Linked DNA regions of Homo sapiens: region 1 is linked to region 2. Evidence: promoter capture Hi-C in 16 types of primary human blood cells and fetal thymus (Javierre and others, 2016). All regions are on one chromosome and are shown on one strand. Each heading gives the region's core, a stretch centred on a gene start or on the middle of the fragment in contact. The rest is flanking DNA. Distances are from core to core; before and after follow the strand shown.

What was found. Contacts are between HindIII fragments. The CHiCAGO score rates a contact against its expected background, and 5 or more counts as called.
Region 1: the fragment with the promoter of CSPG4 here is called in contact with the fragment with the promoter of MAN2C1 in region 2 in 1 of 17 cell types (erythroblasts); the score reaches 6.1 in erythroblasts.

The regions. Positions count from the first base shown.
Region 1 is chr15:75,709,451-75,716,722 of GRCh38, reverse strand. CSPG4 (chondroitin sulfate proteoglycan 4) reads left to right here and starts at 3,875. Exons shown (of 10, transcript NM_001897.5): 1 at 3,875-4,055. The coding sequence starts at 3,968. The HindIII fragment of the contact is 21,900 bases long and covers 2,314-7,272 here.
Region 2 is chr15:75,366,469-75,373,855 of GRCh38, reverse strand. MAN2C1 (mannosidase alpha class 2C member 1) reads left to right here and starts at 5,249. Exons shown (of 26, transcript NM_006715.4): 1 at 5,249-5,373; 2 at 5,658-5,783; 3 at 6,222-6,345; 4 at 7,264-7,334. The coding sequence starts at 5,273. SIN3A (SIN3 transcription regulator family member A) reads left to right here. Exons shown (of 21, transcript NM_001145358.2): 21 at 1,647-4,477. The coding sequence ends at 1,877. RefSeq lists enhancers at 5,074-5,368, 5,053-5,372, 4,944-5,476 and a silencer at 5,503-5,582. The HindIII fragment of the contact is 2,518 bases long and covers 2,909-5,426 here.

The DNA of each region.
Region 1 (7,272 bases), core at 2,626-5,125, 340 kb before region 2:
CTGGCTGCCTGTACTTGGAGGAGCCCTGTGTGTGCCTCTGCCAGAAGCAGGATCAGGACCACTCCTAACAGAGGCCCCAGGTCAAAGGCCCAGGCCCAGGGCCCGCTGCCATGGAGCTCTTGGCCAGAAAACTGCAGGGCCACTGAGCCAGCGCCTAAAGCCCGTGCCCTCTTGCACAGTAGTGGCCTAGGTTCTGTGACCTTCATGGCAGAGGGCCAATTCCCTGAGGGCGGGCCCTGGGCAGCAGGAGCACACCCCTGCTTAGGCACCACCCCATCTAGGGCACAGGCACACACCATTTCCCAGCAAGCTGGCTTTGGCCACAGGCTTCTTGGGTGGGGCCCAGGCAACGAGGGTGCAAAACACCCTGGCCAAGGGTGGGGCCAAACCACAGCCACTGCCCAGAGCGGGGACTCTTAGTCCAAGAAGCACTAGAGGTAGGAGTGACCAGCAGTGCTTGGCCAGCATGGTTGGGTGAACTCTGCTGGCAGGGAGGTGAGTATTACTGGGCCCTCTGTTGTCTTGTTCTCCAAGAACAATTGGAGAAATGGAGGCAGCACATACCACAGGTCACTGTAGCTTCAGAGAAGTTTGAATCTTCTTTTGCCCCTGGGTGGGAACATCCTTCTTCCTTCTTATAAGTGTGTTCTAAGCCTCCTTCTTTCCTCCTCCCTCCCACCCTGTGCTCTGTCCCATGCTTGGCTGGGGAGGCATGGACGCACACCTCCTGACCCAGCTAAGCAGGCCCCAGGTGAAACTAGGAGAGCTACGGAGATCAGGATTCCAGGGAATCTTTTGAAAGAGAAGTCGACGAGCACGAAGGAGGGCTAGGAGGGCTTGCTGGAGGAAGGTGAGATGTGGCCAGGGAGGTAGGGGCAGTCAGGGATGGCCACCAAGGATGCCTGGCCAAGCAAAGTCATGGGAAAGGTTGGAGGGCAGAAGGAAGAAGGCCCGAGCCAGACCTGAGGATGCCAGAGAGGCCCAGGTCAGCTCTGTTCAGCACTGAGGCTTCAGGGCCTTGGGTGAGCTTGCTGAGGAGCTGGAGAGGGGACAGTTGAGGAGCAGGCACAGCTGGTCCAGCAGCCTTTGTTCCAAGACAGTGGGAGGTGGTCAGGGGTCAGTTCCAAAGGCACACAGGGACCTCGACTTTCTGCCAGTCTGCCTGGCATGATGCTGCTCAGCATTGGTCCGGAGTTCCAGCCCTAGGTTACGGCTGAGCAAAGGCCAGGCCTGTGTGCGCTGGAGCCGCAGCATCCCTTTTCCACTGAGAGCCTCAGTTTCCTCATCTGGAAGCAGGGACACAGTTGGCCAACACATACGCTTCCCAAAGTTGTCAAGAGACCAAGTGAATGTTTTTTGTAAACTGGGAAGCCCCAGCAGAGATGCGCCAGCCGGGTTATTACCGCTGTGCTGGTTGCCATTATTTTCCAGGCCTGTGTTTCTCTGCCCAGCTAGCAACAAGGCAGGGGGAGGCTCCCAGCTAATCCAGACTTGAATCTCAGCTGTGGGTGGGAGCACCCTGTCTGGAGGCTCCACAGACATCTGTGTAGGTGGGGAGCAGGGAAGATGGGGAGGGGGTGGGGGGGGGAGATGGGGCCAGCAGAGATCTTCACCCAGATTTTTGATTCATAGAGCAAAAAGCCTTCTGTCTTATTTTTTCATTCCTGAAAAGAAAGCTCTTTTCCTCCAAACACAGTCTTCCAAGCAGCACCCCCACCCCCAGCCCCATAGCTTGTCAGTAATTAGCCCCTAATGAGGACCAGGTGTCCTACCGACTTGAGGAGAAGGAAAAACAAGGGACAGCCGGGCGCGGTGGCTCACACCTGTAATCCCAGCACTTTGGGAGGCTGAGGCGGGCAGATCACGAGGTCAGGAGTTCAAGACCAGCCTGGTCAACATGGTGAAACCCCATCTCTACTAAAAATACAAAAATTAGCCAGGCATGGTGGTGCACACCTGCAATCCCAGCTACTCAGGAGGCTGAGGCAGGAGAATCGCTTGAACCCGGGAGGCAGAGGTTGCAGTGAGCCGAGATCGCGCCATTACACTCCAGCCTGGGCAACAGAGCGAGACTCTGTCTCAAAAAAAAAAAAAAAAAAAACAAGGGACAAATTGTGGAATCAATGCCTTTACCGCCACTGAGGCCAGCCTAGCACAGCCTCCATCCCAGGCCTCCTAGGGCACCTGGATGGAAGCTCTTAGGTTTGCCAAAATCCCTACAGAACAGCAGCAATTGGTTTCTTAGTCAACTACAGCAGGCATTTATTGTACACCTACTGTATGCAGCAGCCTCTGGAGGAGAAAGTTCAAGCTTTACAACAAGGGAGGTGATATGTGTAAAGCTGTATGTAAACCATGAATCACAGGGAATGTGCAGGATGACAGAGACGGAGGAGAAAGGATAAGCATTTATTGAGCACCTACCGTATGCCAGGCCCTGGGCTAGGGACTTGAGGTACATTAAAGCATTTAATCCTCATTAACCCAATTTTACAAATGAGGAAACTGCCACAGAGAGGTGAGGGGACTTGTTCAAGGTTTGACAACCAAGTAAGGGAGCTGGGATTTGAACCCAGGTCTCTCTGGTTTCAAGACCAATACTCATAACCCCCACATGGACCAGGCACCATCACACCTGAGCACTGCACTTAGGGTCAAAGACCTGGCCCCACATCTCAGCAGCTATGTAGACTAGCTCCAGTCCCTTAATCTCTCTCAGCCTCAGTTTCTTCATCTGCAAAACAGGTCTCAGTTTCGTTGCAAAGTATGAAGTGCTGGGCTGTTACTGGTCAAAGGGAAGAGCTGGGAAGAGGGTGCAAGGTGGGGTTGGGCTGGAGATGGGCTGGAGCAGATAGATGGAGGGACCTGAATGGAGGAAGTAAACCAAGGCCCGGTAACATTGGGACTGGACAGAGAACACGCAGATCCTCTAGGCACCGGAAGCTAAGTAACATTGCCCTTTCTCCTCCTGTTTGGGACTAGGCTGATGTTGCTGCCTGGAAGGGAGCCAGCAGAAGGGCCCCAGCCTGAAGCTGTTAGGTAGAAGCCAAATCCAGGGCCAGATTTCCAGGAGGCAGCCTCGGGAAGTTGAAACACCCGGATTCAGGGGTCAGGAGGCCTGGGCTTCTGGCACCAAACGGCCAGGGACCTACTTTCCACCTGGAGTCTTGTAAGAGCCACTTTCAGCTTGAGCTGCACTTTCGTCCTCCATGAAATGGGGGAGGGGATGCTCCTCACCCACCTTGCAAGGTTATTTTGAGGCAAATGTCATGGCGGGACTGAGAATTCTTCTGCCCTGCGAGGAAATCCAGACATCTCTCCCTTACAGACAGGGAGACTGAGGTGAGGCCCTTCCAGGCAGAGAAGGTCACTGTTGCAGCCATGGGCAGTGCCCCACAGGACCTCGGGTGGTGCCTCTGGAGTCTGGAGAAGTTCCTAGGGGACCTCCGAGGCAAAGCAGCCCAAAAGCCGCCTGTGAGGGTGGCTGGTGTCTGTCCTTCCTCCTAAGGCTGGAGTGTGCCTGTGGAGGGGTCTCCTGAACTCCCGCAAAGGCAGAAAGGAGGGAAGTAGGGGCTGGGACAGTTCATGCCTCCTCCCTGAGGGGGTCTCCCGGGCTCGGCTCTTGGGGCCAGAGTTCAGGGTGTCTGGGCCTCTCTATGACTTTGTTCTAAGTCTTTAGGGTGGGGCTGGGGTCTGGCCCAGCTGCAAGGGCCCCCTCACCCCTGCCCCAGAGAGGAACAGCCCCGCACGGGCCCTTTAAGAAGGTTGAGGGTGGGGGCAGGTGGGGGAGTCCAAGCCTGAAACCCGAGCGGGCGCGCGGGTCTGCGCCTGCCCCGCCCCCGGAGTTAAGTGCGCGGACACCCGGAGCCGGCCCGCGCCCAGGAGCAGAGCCGCGCTCGCTCCACTCAGCTCCCAGCTCCCAGGACTCCGCTGGCTCCTCGCAAGTCCTGCCGCCCAGCCCGCCGGGATGCAGTCCGGGCCGCGGCCCCCACTTCCAGCCCCCGGCCTGGCCTTGGCTTTGACCCTGACTATGTTGGCCAGACTTGCATCCGCGGGTGAGTGAGGGGCCTGAGACCCCGACCCAGCCTGGCGGAACTAGAGGGGTTCCTCCGGGAGGGAAAAGGGACAGGAGGAGCCAGAAGTGGCCCCCAGATCGGGAGTCAAGCAGGCTGCGCTTCTCCCACCACTAGCTGGGGTCGCCAGGGGTTCAATCCTGGGGCGGACACGGGACCCCGCTATCTCAGGTTATGGGGTTTCTAGCTAGCCAAGGCTGTCCAGTTAGGGGCGGGAGCAGGCGCCCCAGGCATGGATTGCCTAGGGCGTGGCTTTGCCCGTTTGGATTGTCTGAGACACCAGTGGGGCCACCCCAATGCTGGCCGAGCTTTGTTTGCCAGGCAAGTTTGGGGTGAGTATGTTGGGGTCCAAAGGGACCCGGCGACAGTGAGAAGTGGGTCCTCCAGCTTCAGATGCCCTGGGCCAGGAATGGGGAGTGCTACAAGGTGGGAAACGAGGAATGAGCCACCCTGCCCTCCCCTGTGAGGAGCACCCCCACACCCCTCCAGCTGCCCCCCAGCTCTGCCCCTTCTTTCCTCCCCTTGCTTCCTTGCAGATCCGTCTATCTGCCACCTCCCCTCTTCATTCTCTCCTCTCCCTCCTCCTGTTGGTGACAGGCAGGACCCCCCACCCACTACCCACTCTCAGCCTCCTAGAGGGAGAGCTGGTGCCCCTCAGCGGGGCTTGTCCTACAGATAGCTCTGGACCACCCCCTGCCACACCTCCTCATCCCAGCACTGATGCCTGACCCAGCAGAGGCTGAATGGAAGTTCGCTTTCCGAGAAGTGCTGGGATATATCCCCTCTCTGTCCCGATGCCAGAAACCCCAACATGACAGCATTCTTCCTTCAGCGAAGGCAGCTCTAGTTATGCCATAAGAACTGTGGCCTTAGGGCCCATCCATCATCACTACCCACGTGTGATTCAGTGCTTCAGCTACACCTTCGAGATCATTCCCAAGAGCAACATGGAGCAAAGGCAGGGCCTGAGCCTCCTTCACAAGGGCCCAGGCCACACCCTTCTCTCCTTCAGATGGAGAAGCCAGCTCTAAAAGAGGGCATCACATGGTTCCCAGAAGGGAAGTGAGTCAAGGGAGGACCCCCGCGGGGTGAATCAGGGCTGGATCTCCAGGCTCCCTGTTCCTGCAGGGACCAGATCCCCTAAGATCTCAGGGCCTGAGGGATGGGCTGGGCCGCCAGGGAGATGGGAAGGGAGCATCCAAGGTGACCAGGGTGGTCAGCTCATTCAGGCCCCAGCCTCCAGCCAAGGAGGGATTCCAGTACCCCCACCTCCTTGGGCTTCAACTGAGAGCCATTCTCAAATACCTTCTTAGCCCTGACAGCATGCAGGCATGGTGCTAGGCTCGCAGGGGCACGGGAAATTGAGAGGCTGAACTGAGACTCATTCAGGAGGCAGAAAGGCAAATTAAATCTCAAACAGCAAAAATCTGGATGAAAAGTACAGAGGGGAGAAAAGCAGGGGCAAGCTGGGGCAGGACACAGGGTGGGCCTCAAACCAAGCCTTGGTGGATGGGAAGGGAGTCAGTCCTCCAGGCAGGGGCGCTGACTCAGAGGCACCAAGGTGGGCGTAAGCAGAGGGGTGTTGAGACAGGAAGGCCAGCAGCCTGGCTGGGAGGCGTATTTCGAGCACAGGCCAGGGAGAACCACTGGGCTGGGGCACAGAAGCCTTAAATGGCAAAATGAAGCCCACGGCCTTATGCCCTGTTGGCAAAGGAGATGCCACAAGGGTTTTAGGGCAAGAGAGCAGCATGGTGCTGTGGGGTTTTATAAAGTTACACCATCCCCTGCCTTTAGGAGGACTCGGAAATGAGGAGGGGCTGTGAGAGCTCCCGTCCAGCAACCCATCTCTGTCACCACTCCTGGTCCAGCTGCCTGCCCTGATTTCTGCAGTAGGGGCAGCCCCTGCCTGAGGAAGGCGTCCCTCCCACCCCTCCTGGATGCCCCTGGCTGCAAAGGCCCTCGTCCTCCCGTATCCGAATGAGGCGTGCTGGGAGGCTCTCCCTCTACTCATCAACATTTGAGGCATCCAGGTCAGGGGGCCTGGCAGTCAGCACCCTAGAGGCCATCTGGGCCAATCTTCCACTTGTATAGAGAGGGAAACTGAGGCCCCAGAGAGGAAGAAAAGTACTCTGAGTTCCACCAAGAACCCCAGCAGCCCAGGAAGAGCCCCCAGCCCTGCTTCGAGGGTGCTCCCAGCCTGCGTCGGGGCCTAGGCTTGGGCCACTGAGACAGTGTGGGTGACAGATGCGGTGTCCAGCTCCTTCTGAGCTGTATGGGAGGCCCCAGCAGAGAGCCAAGCATTGGGGGAGATTGGATTTGAGCTGATACTGGAAGGACAGGCAGAGAAGGAAGGAGGTGACATTCTAGTCGGGGGGTCACAGTGAGCACAGGGCAGGCAGGGGTGGTGGCTCCCACACCTCTTCCCTGGCATCACTGACTGAAAGGCAGAATGTGAGGGGTTGAAGTGGGACCCAGGTTGGGGAGTACCTGGCAGGGAGGGCTTGTGTGTTACCTGGGTGGGGACTCAGAACTGATGGGGGTATCTTAGTGAGCAGGGCCACAGGGACACCAGGTACAAGAAATTGAAGCAGGGTAGATCCTGCTGCCTCTGAGGATGGCTTGGGGGGACCGATGGTGCTCGGGACAGGCACTGAGCCTTGTGTGCACCTTGTGTGCCACCCCAGGCCTCCGGAGCAGGGCAGGGCCCAGGGGCCAGAGCCCTTGGCCCAGCCCACCCGGACTCGAGAAAAACTGTTCTAGAGCAAGTGTAACGGAGCCTCCCTCCCTACGCCTGCCCGCCCGGGCAGGACAAGAAGGGCCTTTTAGTGCTGCCCGCCTGGGGGGCCTGGGGTGGGCCATGCCAGGTGGGCCAGGCGGCTGTCGATGACGGCAGGAGGGGAGTAGGGTGCGTGTGGAGCTCTCAGAGGAAGTGTATAGGCTGTGTCTGGGAACTGGGCGTGCTGCCCAGGAGGGGCGGGCAGGGGAGGGGGAGTTGGAAATAGCCTTGACGTCCGCACTTACTGGCGCACACAGATGTGGGCACACACACTTGCACACGGCCACTCTCACAGACCTGGACGAGGTGGCTACTGCCTCTGTCTCCAAGTCCCCTACCTTAAAGATCTGGGCCAGTGGCACTTGCGGGGAAGGAAGTGAGCACAGGATGGGGACAGGGGTGCCACCTGAGGTGTGTCTTCTA
Region 2 (7,387 bases), core at 4,000-6,499:
AGTCTACTACTGACTGGAAGGCTTACTGATAAACAACATATTTTGTATGTTGTATGTATTATATATACTGCATTCTTTTTTTCTTTCTTTTTTTTTTTTTTAATGAAAATAGACACGGGGTCTCCTTACGTTGCCCAGGGCTGGTCTCAAACTCAAGGGTTCAAACAACCCACCCATTTCAGCCTCCTAAAGTGCTGGGATTACAGGCGTGAGCCACTGTGCCCAGCCTATACTGTATATTCTTACAATAAAGTAAGTTAGAGAAAAGAAAATGTTAAGTCATAAGCAAGAGAAGATACATTTACTCTTCATTAAGTGGTTGTGGCTCATCATAAAGGGTCCTTATTCTCATCTTGTTGAGTAGGCTGAAGAGGGAGGAGGAAGGGAGGGGTTGTTTTTGCTGTCTCAGGGTTGGCAGAGGTGGAAGAAAACTTGCCTATCAGTGGCCCTGCGCTGTTCAAAGCTGTGTTGTTCAAGAGTCTGCTCTACTTCTCTCATGGCACTGAGGGAAGCGCAGTGGCATGATTTCAGCTCACTGCATCCTCCACTTCCCGGGTTCAAGAGATTCTCTTGTCTCAGCCTCTCGAGTAGCTGGGATTACGGGCGTGCACCACCACACCTGGCTCATTTTTTTTGCTATGTGTTGTGTGTCTGCCTGTCTCTGATTCACATTATTTGGGACACTGGGCAACACCAGTTTTGTCTTTGTATCTCTTCTAGTATCCTTGCATGTGGACACCAATAAATTTTTATTGAATGTGTTGGTGGGAACAGAACCCCCTGCAGAACATCTGCCAAGCCTGGACTCTGCTTCCCAGGGTGGGGTAACACAGTGGAGGGAGAGTGGTTTTAAGCCCTTTGCTTTGCACTGTCTGGCTTAGAGGTGGATCTCCATGCTGATAGAAGTGATCAATGGCTCACTGGGTCCTACCCAGGATACATTAGAATCAGCTGGATTGCTGGTTTAAAATGCACATTGGTAAACCAAGGAAATGTGGGTTTTGGGGGTTTTGGGTTTTTTTTTTTTTTTTTTTTGGAGACAGGGTTTGGCTCTGTCATCTAGGCTGGGGTGCGGTGGTGCGATCTTGGCTCACTGCAGCCTCCACCTCCTGGCTCAAGCGATCCTCCCACTTCAGCCTACCAAGTAGCTGGGACTACAGGTGTGTGCCACCACGCCCAGTTATTATTTGTATTTTTGTAGAGATGGGGTTTTGCCATGTTGCCCAGGCTGGTCTCAAACTCCTGAGCTCAAGCGAACTGCCTGCCTCAGCCTCCCAGAGTACTAGGATTACAGGCATGAGTCACTGCACCTGGTCAGAAATGTGTATTTTTTAACACATTCCCTCGGTTATACTAACGCATGCTAAAATTGAGAACAGCGAGCTTTTTCAGCCCAGAGCCTGTGTTCGCATTTCTTTGGAGGCTTTATGGATTTTCATGCCCTCACATGTTCTATGTTCTTACCTCTTTAACTTCTCTTTAAACAGAGAATCCTTTTTTTTTTCTTTTAAGAAAAAAACAGTGGTATCTAAGACTTGAGCCCACATCTTTCCTTTGCTCCTTTAGAAGAAAATTAGGCTTTGTATTTGAAGGGCTCTTTTTTGGTTCTGCTTCATTTAATAAAATTTTTTTTTTCTGTTTTGCAGTCCCATGAGCGTGTAAGCAAGCGTCTACATCAGAGATTCCAGGCCTGGGTAGATAAATGGACCAAGGAGCATGTGCCCCGTGAAATGGCAGCAGAGACCAGCAAGTGGCTCATGGGTGAGGGGCTGGAGGGCCTGGTGCCCTGTACCACCACCTGTGATACAGAGACCCTGCATTTTGTGAGCATTAACAAGTATCGTGTCAAATACGGCACAGTATTCAAAGCCCCTTAACTGCAAAGCCAGAGCAGATAACTTGGGGTGTGTGTGGGGATGTGTGTGTGGGCCTATGCACTCACACACTGAAGAAACAAGGAAGATGCCTTTCAAGCCTCACTGGGCCTCTCTGGGACATGGCCACCTGACCTGTGTGTGGCTGGTGCAGCCTGGCACCAAGTGGGCTACCTGTTAGGAACATGAATACCTTACAAAGCTGAAGCTGGAACTTTTCCCAAAGGGTTTTGGGTATAGCCTGCCCTGGAGGGGAAGGAAGTCCATGCAAGCAAAGACATGCAGTTTGCTTGCACACACCAGCAGAGCTAAGACTGGAGTCTCCTGTGGCCTAACTTTCAATGAGGGAACCGGATGCTGTTCACACTTTGACTGGATGGAGATGCATTTACAAAACAGACTGGAGAAGGACTTAATACTCAGATGGATTGGAACTATCATGGTCACTGCTCCTCTCCCCTCCCCACAAAAGGAAAAAAAAGCTGGATTTGATTTTTTTTTTCTGGTCACTCGAGCACATCTAAGATCACCCATTAGGTTTTATCTGGGACCTGCAGTTTGGCTTTGGGATTGATCATCTTGTGGATTTTATTCCTGACGATTCCCTTGCTGCCTACCCTTTTCTCTCCTCTGGTTCTCAACCTCAACGAGTTCAAATCAGTTGTCCTTTTTAGCTCCCGTGGAACTGTTTTGTATCTGCCTCTTTACTAGTCTACCTTAGTGCCATCCACCAGCTTTACTCTCTGACACACACACGCACACACACACACAATTTTAACTTGTTTTTTTGTACATAATGTACATACTGTCAATTTTTTATTAAAAGAAATATGCTTTGATGTGCTAGCATAACTGCTCTAGCTTCTTGTGTACCATAGTACTGTGGCTTCAGATTTAGTACCTATGAACAGATGTACAAGACATTTATTACACTTTTTACCAAAGGGAGTTACCATTGTAGTACTTTTGTGTAAAACTTGTCTTCCCCTTTGCCCCCAACTTTTTTTTTTTTTTTTTTGTAAATAAATAAAGCTTGGTTCTTACTTAAGGAATAAACTCTCAACCCACGTCCCTTGTCCTCACCAGAAAATACTGTGAAGCAGGGATTTTGACTTCAGTTCCTTATCCAGGGTAGAAACAGGATTTTGCTTAAAATACTTGTTACTTGTCCCAAATCAAAATATTCCAAAATCTTAGAATACTTAAGTCTTTTAGTACGTGTTTTTTTCCCTTGTTCAAATAATCTGAAAATATTTTATATTTGGGTAAGTTGTCAAGCTATGTAGTTTGTATTTCTATATATTTTTTCTTATTCACATTGGTGATGGATGGGGGTGAGCAACTTAAATACCAAACCAGTGTTTGAAAAAAAAGTGTGCATAAGGCATGTGGTATACCTTATAAATGGAGTTGGGAGGGAGAGAATTTGAAATGGGATACCTATTTTTTTAATTACATAAATTTAAACTAGCAGACATTTAAACATGAATGATTAGGATTTTTCTATGTGGTTAACCTGGACTTTCTGAACAAAGACCAACTGAGCCCCTCCCAGTACTCTGGTGGATTTTTCTTCAGCAACCATTACGCAAGTCTTAGTTGTAACCAGCAATGTTCTGTGTGTTTTATGTTTGCTTTTTAGTTAAAAATCACCACCACCACCAAAAAGAAAAACAAAATTTTTTGGCTCCTGGATTTTCAAAACACATGGTAGACCTCTCTGATTTTAGGCTTTTATTGTTTAAAGACAGTGTCTCGCTTTATGACCCACACTGGAGTGCAGTGCCACGATCATAGCTCACTGCAGGCTTGACCTCCCAGGCTCAAGCAGTCCTCCCACCTCGGCCTCCTGAGTAGCTGCATGCCACCACGCCCAGCTAATTTTTTAACTTTTTGTAGAGACAGGGTCTTGCTATGCTGCCCAGGTTGGTCTCAAACTCCTGGCCTCAAGCTGTCCTCCCACCTCGGCCTCGCAAAGTGCTGAGATTACAGGTGTGAGCCACCCTGGCCTGATTTTAGGCTTTTTTTGTACTGGGGAGAAGAGACTGTGAGCCAAAGTGTAGGGTGCCAAAAAGAGCTTTGTGGGATGAGATTTTAGGGCAAAGCTGGGGCAGTGTCTGACTTGGCGGTGGTCATGTGTACTGATTTAGGGGAAAGATCTTGAGGTTTTCTCAAATAATTCACCTATCCCCGTGTTCCCTCAAGAAAGGTCATGTTGACCTGGAACCATAGGGGAAATTGGTGGGGTGTGATCAGGGTCAGCCCCAGCTGTTGCTGCCCCTGCAGTGTTTTGTCCAGAGCACTTGCCTGCAGGTCAGGATAGGATTTCAAGGCCAGTTCAGGAGAAAGTCCCAACCCACCAGTGCAACCAACAAAAGAGTAAGTTTTACCTACAGCCTGGGTTTTCACAAGTAGCATTTTTATTCCTCCTGCTGTCTGACATCTGAGCTCCAAGCTCTAAACCCAACCTGTATTATATGCAGCAGCAGGTTATCTTTGTTTTAAATCACATTTGTTATTCTGTACTTAGTCACCTTTCCGTGTGATCTGCATTTGAAATGTTGTAAACTTGGTCAGTATTTCCATTAAAATATCAGGGCTAATCTTGTGTATTTTTTTTTGTTCCTAATGATTTTATAGACAAAGACTCTTGGCAACCCCAGGAGAAAAAAAATAAAGCTGTCAGTGGAGTACTAGGGATGAGAATGAAACTGGAGGTCTGTTTCTGGTATTATGGCTTCCCGGGACTCTACAGTCCTGTATGGTGAAATACATTTTTCCATTGGGATCGTCAATGCCATGACTGTTCTGCCACCTCAAACTCCAGAGTTTCTGGTGATGTGCAAGAGTTAGCAATATACATTCAGTAAAGCGTGTAATCGAGTAAGTCGTAGTAACTTGGGCGTAAAGCTCTACCACCCTGCTCACTAACACCCTGATCTCCGTCCGGTATGAAAACACCTATTCCGGGTAGTCTGGCTCCACGTTAAGCAAACACCACTTTCCGTGTTCACCGACAGCTAGAGCCAGAGGTCTCCCGGTTGCTGCTTCTGAGGCTGGGTCTGCAGCAGCTGAGGCTCCCGCCTGTCTTGCCGAATGGCCTAAGTCTCTGTCTTGAGACTTTCGAGAGTTCTAATCGTCAAATTTCCCATTTTATTTTGAGATTTTCCCTGCGGCCCACTATTTCGGACAACATAGGAGAGCCTCAAAAACAGTTTCTAGCTTCCAACTCGGCTCAAAGTTCAGACAGCAGCTGGGCTTCCGAGAGCCGCCGGTGTTCCAAGAAAAGCTGCCCGGGACTGGGAGGCGCCCTCTGGACGCCGGAACCTTTGGTTTCCTGCCGTGGAGCGGAACGGTAGCGCCAGGGGCCTTCCGGAAAGAGGAGCGAGAGCCCGGCGATGGCGGCTGCGCCGGCCTTGAAGCACTGGCGCACCACGCTGGAGCGGGTGGAGAAGTTCGTGTCGCCGCTCTACTTTACCGACTGTAACCTCCGCGGCAGGTGTGGCCCCTGGTCCCCCGCAGCCGGCCGACCGCAACCGTGCGCCTCAAGCTTTCCTTCCGGGGAGAAACCTAAGCTGCAGCCACCCGGGCCGCGGGACAAAGTGCCCGCCGCGGGCAGGGCAGGGGCCGGGGAGGAGGGGGTAGGGAATGGACTGTGCCGCGGAGCGGCCAGGCAGCCCTCTTGGCGGAGGATCCAGGGAAAGTGCGGCCCCACCGGCCAGCTGGCCCCCAGGCGGAAACGGGGCGGCCTCCAGCATGTGCCCACCGGCCCGTCCCACGCAGGCTTTTTGGGGCCAGCTGCCCTGTGGCTGTGCTCTCCAGCTTCCTGACGCCGGAGAGACTTCCCTACCAGGAGGCAGTCCAGCGGGACTTCCGCCCCGCGCAGGTCGGCGACAGCTTCGGACCCACGTAGGTAACGCCCAGCGGGTGGGCGGGGCCACAGGCCTAGGGGAAGTCCCAACCCAGCTCCCAGCCACACCTTCGTTGTCTGCCCTCTGCCGTAGACAACTACGTGGGATCGAGCAGCACCCTCTGCTGGGAGCAGCACCCTCTGCTGGGAACAGCTCTCTGGTCCCTGGGTCTTCAGGGGATGGTTTTCATTCCCACGTGGCCGCCTCTGGACATCCCTTAGGAAGGGCACCCTAGGGATCACGAACCTTTGACGCCTCTGCCTGTTTCCCTCATCTTGCTTCTCACCTTGTTGCTCCTTTCTTGTGACTCAAAGCTGAGTACCTTGTGACACTGCAGATGCTTGGAGAGTTTCAAGCCCCTGCCGACACTTTATCCAAGGAAGGATATCAGGATAGGACTTCTACCTCTAGGCCTATCACAACAGCTCTCTTGCAGATGGTGGACCTGCTGGTTCCGGGTGGAGCTGACCATCCCAGAGGCATGGGTGGGCCAGGAAGTTCACCTTTGCTGGGAAAGTGATGGAGAAGGTCTGGTGTGGCGTGATGGAGAACCTGTCCAGGTGAGGAACCCTGTCCTAGGGCCAGGTATGGCCACATTTCAGCCCTGAAATGACTACAGCCCTTCTTCTGTGGACTCTGGAGAAGCCACAGCTGAGTTGCTCTGCCCACAGGGTGGTATCAGGATTTCAGGACTAGGGAAGTTGCCACTTGGGCATCTGTGCAATTGGTCCTTAGTTTTTATTGTGTATAATACAAACTTATAGGAAAACATTTCAAACAGTTCTAGATAAAGTAATGGATCTCTCCTTATCACCCATCCCATTCCCCAGCTATAACCACTGTTAAGTGTCTTATTCATGCTCCACCCTTATCAGGTTTAGTCCTTATACTCCTATCTAGTAGGTCTTTATACCCATTTACAAATTAAGAAACAGATGTGTAGTTGACTCACTCAGGTTCACACAGCTTCTATTTCAAATTGGACTGACTCTCAATCTGGGGTTAAGACTGTTCTTCCTGGCTACAAGAAGGCAGAGACCATCCCTTCCTCCCTTCACTGGCTCAGCAAATATCTCCTGGTGTCCATTCTGGGCCATACCCTTAAGCACTAGGGTGTAGCAGGGAATGAGGCAAACCTGCCCCTGACTTCACGGAGTTTCTTTCCCGGTATTTATTTAGGGGTGCAGAGGCCACCAGAATCCACACTCAGGCTGCCTAACCCCTTCCCAGGGCCCTTCCCATAAGACCATGGGTTTGCCACTGGTAAACAGGGGCTATTTGACGGTCATGGTGCTGGCTGCCATGGGAGTTGGGGCATCTACTGCCAAGGGTCCCTGATTTGCCAATCTTGGCCCTGCTTGGGAGAGAGGACCCAGAGCTGGGAACCAGATGGAGGGGCCTGACTCCCCATGGCTTACACTTTACCTGAACTGTCCAAAAGCCTCAAGCCTTGTCTCTCTCACTCCCCTCCCTACTAGGGTTTAACCAAAGAGGGTGAGAAGACCAGCTATGTCCTGACTGACAGGCTGGGGGAAAGAGACCCCCGAAGGTGAGTCCCTGTGCCCTGGTTGACCAGTGCTGTCAGGGAGGGAGTACCAGTGA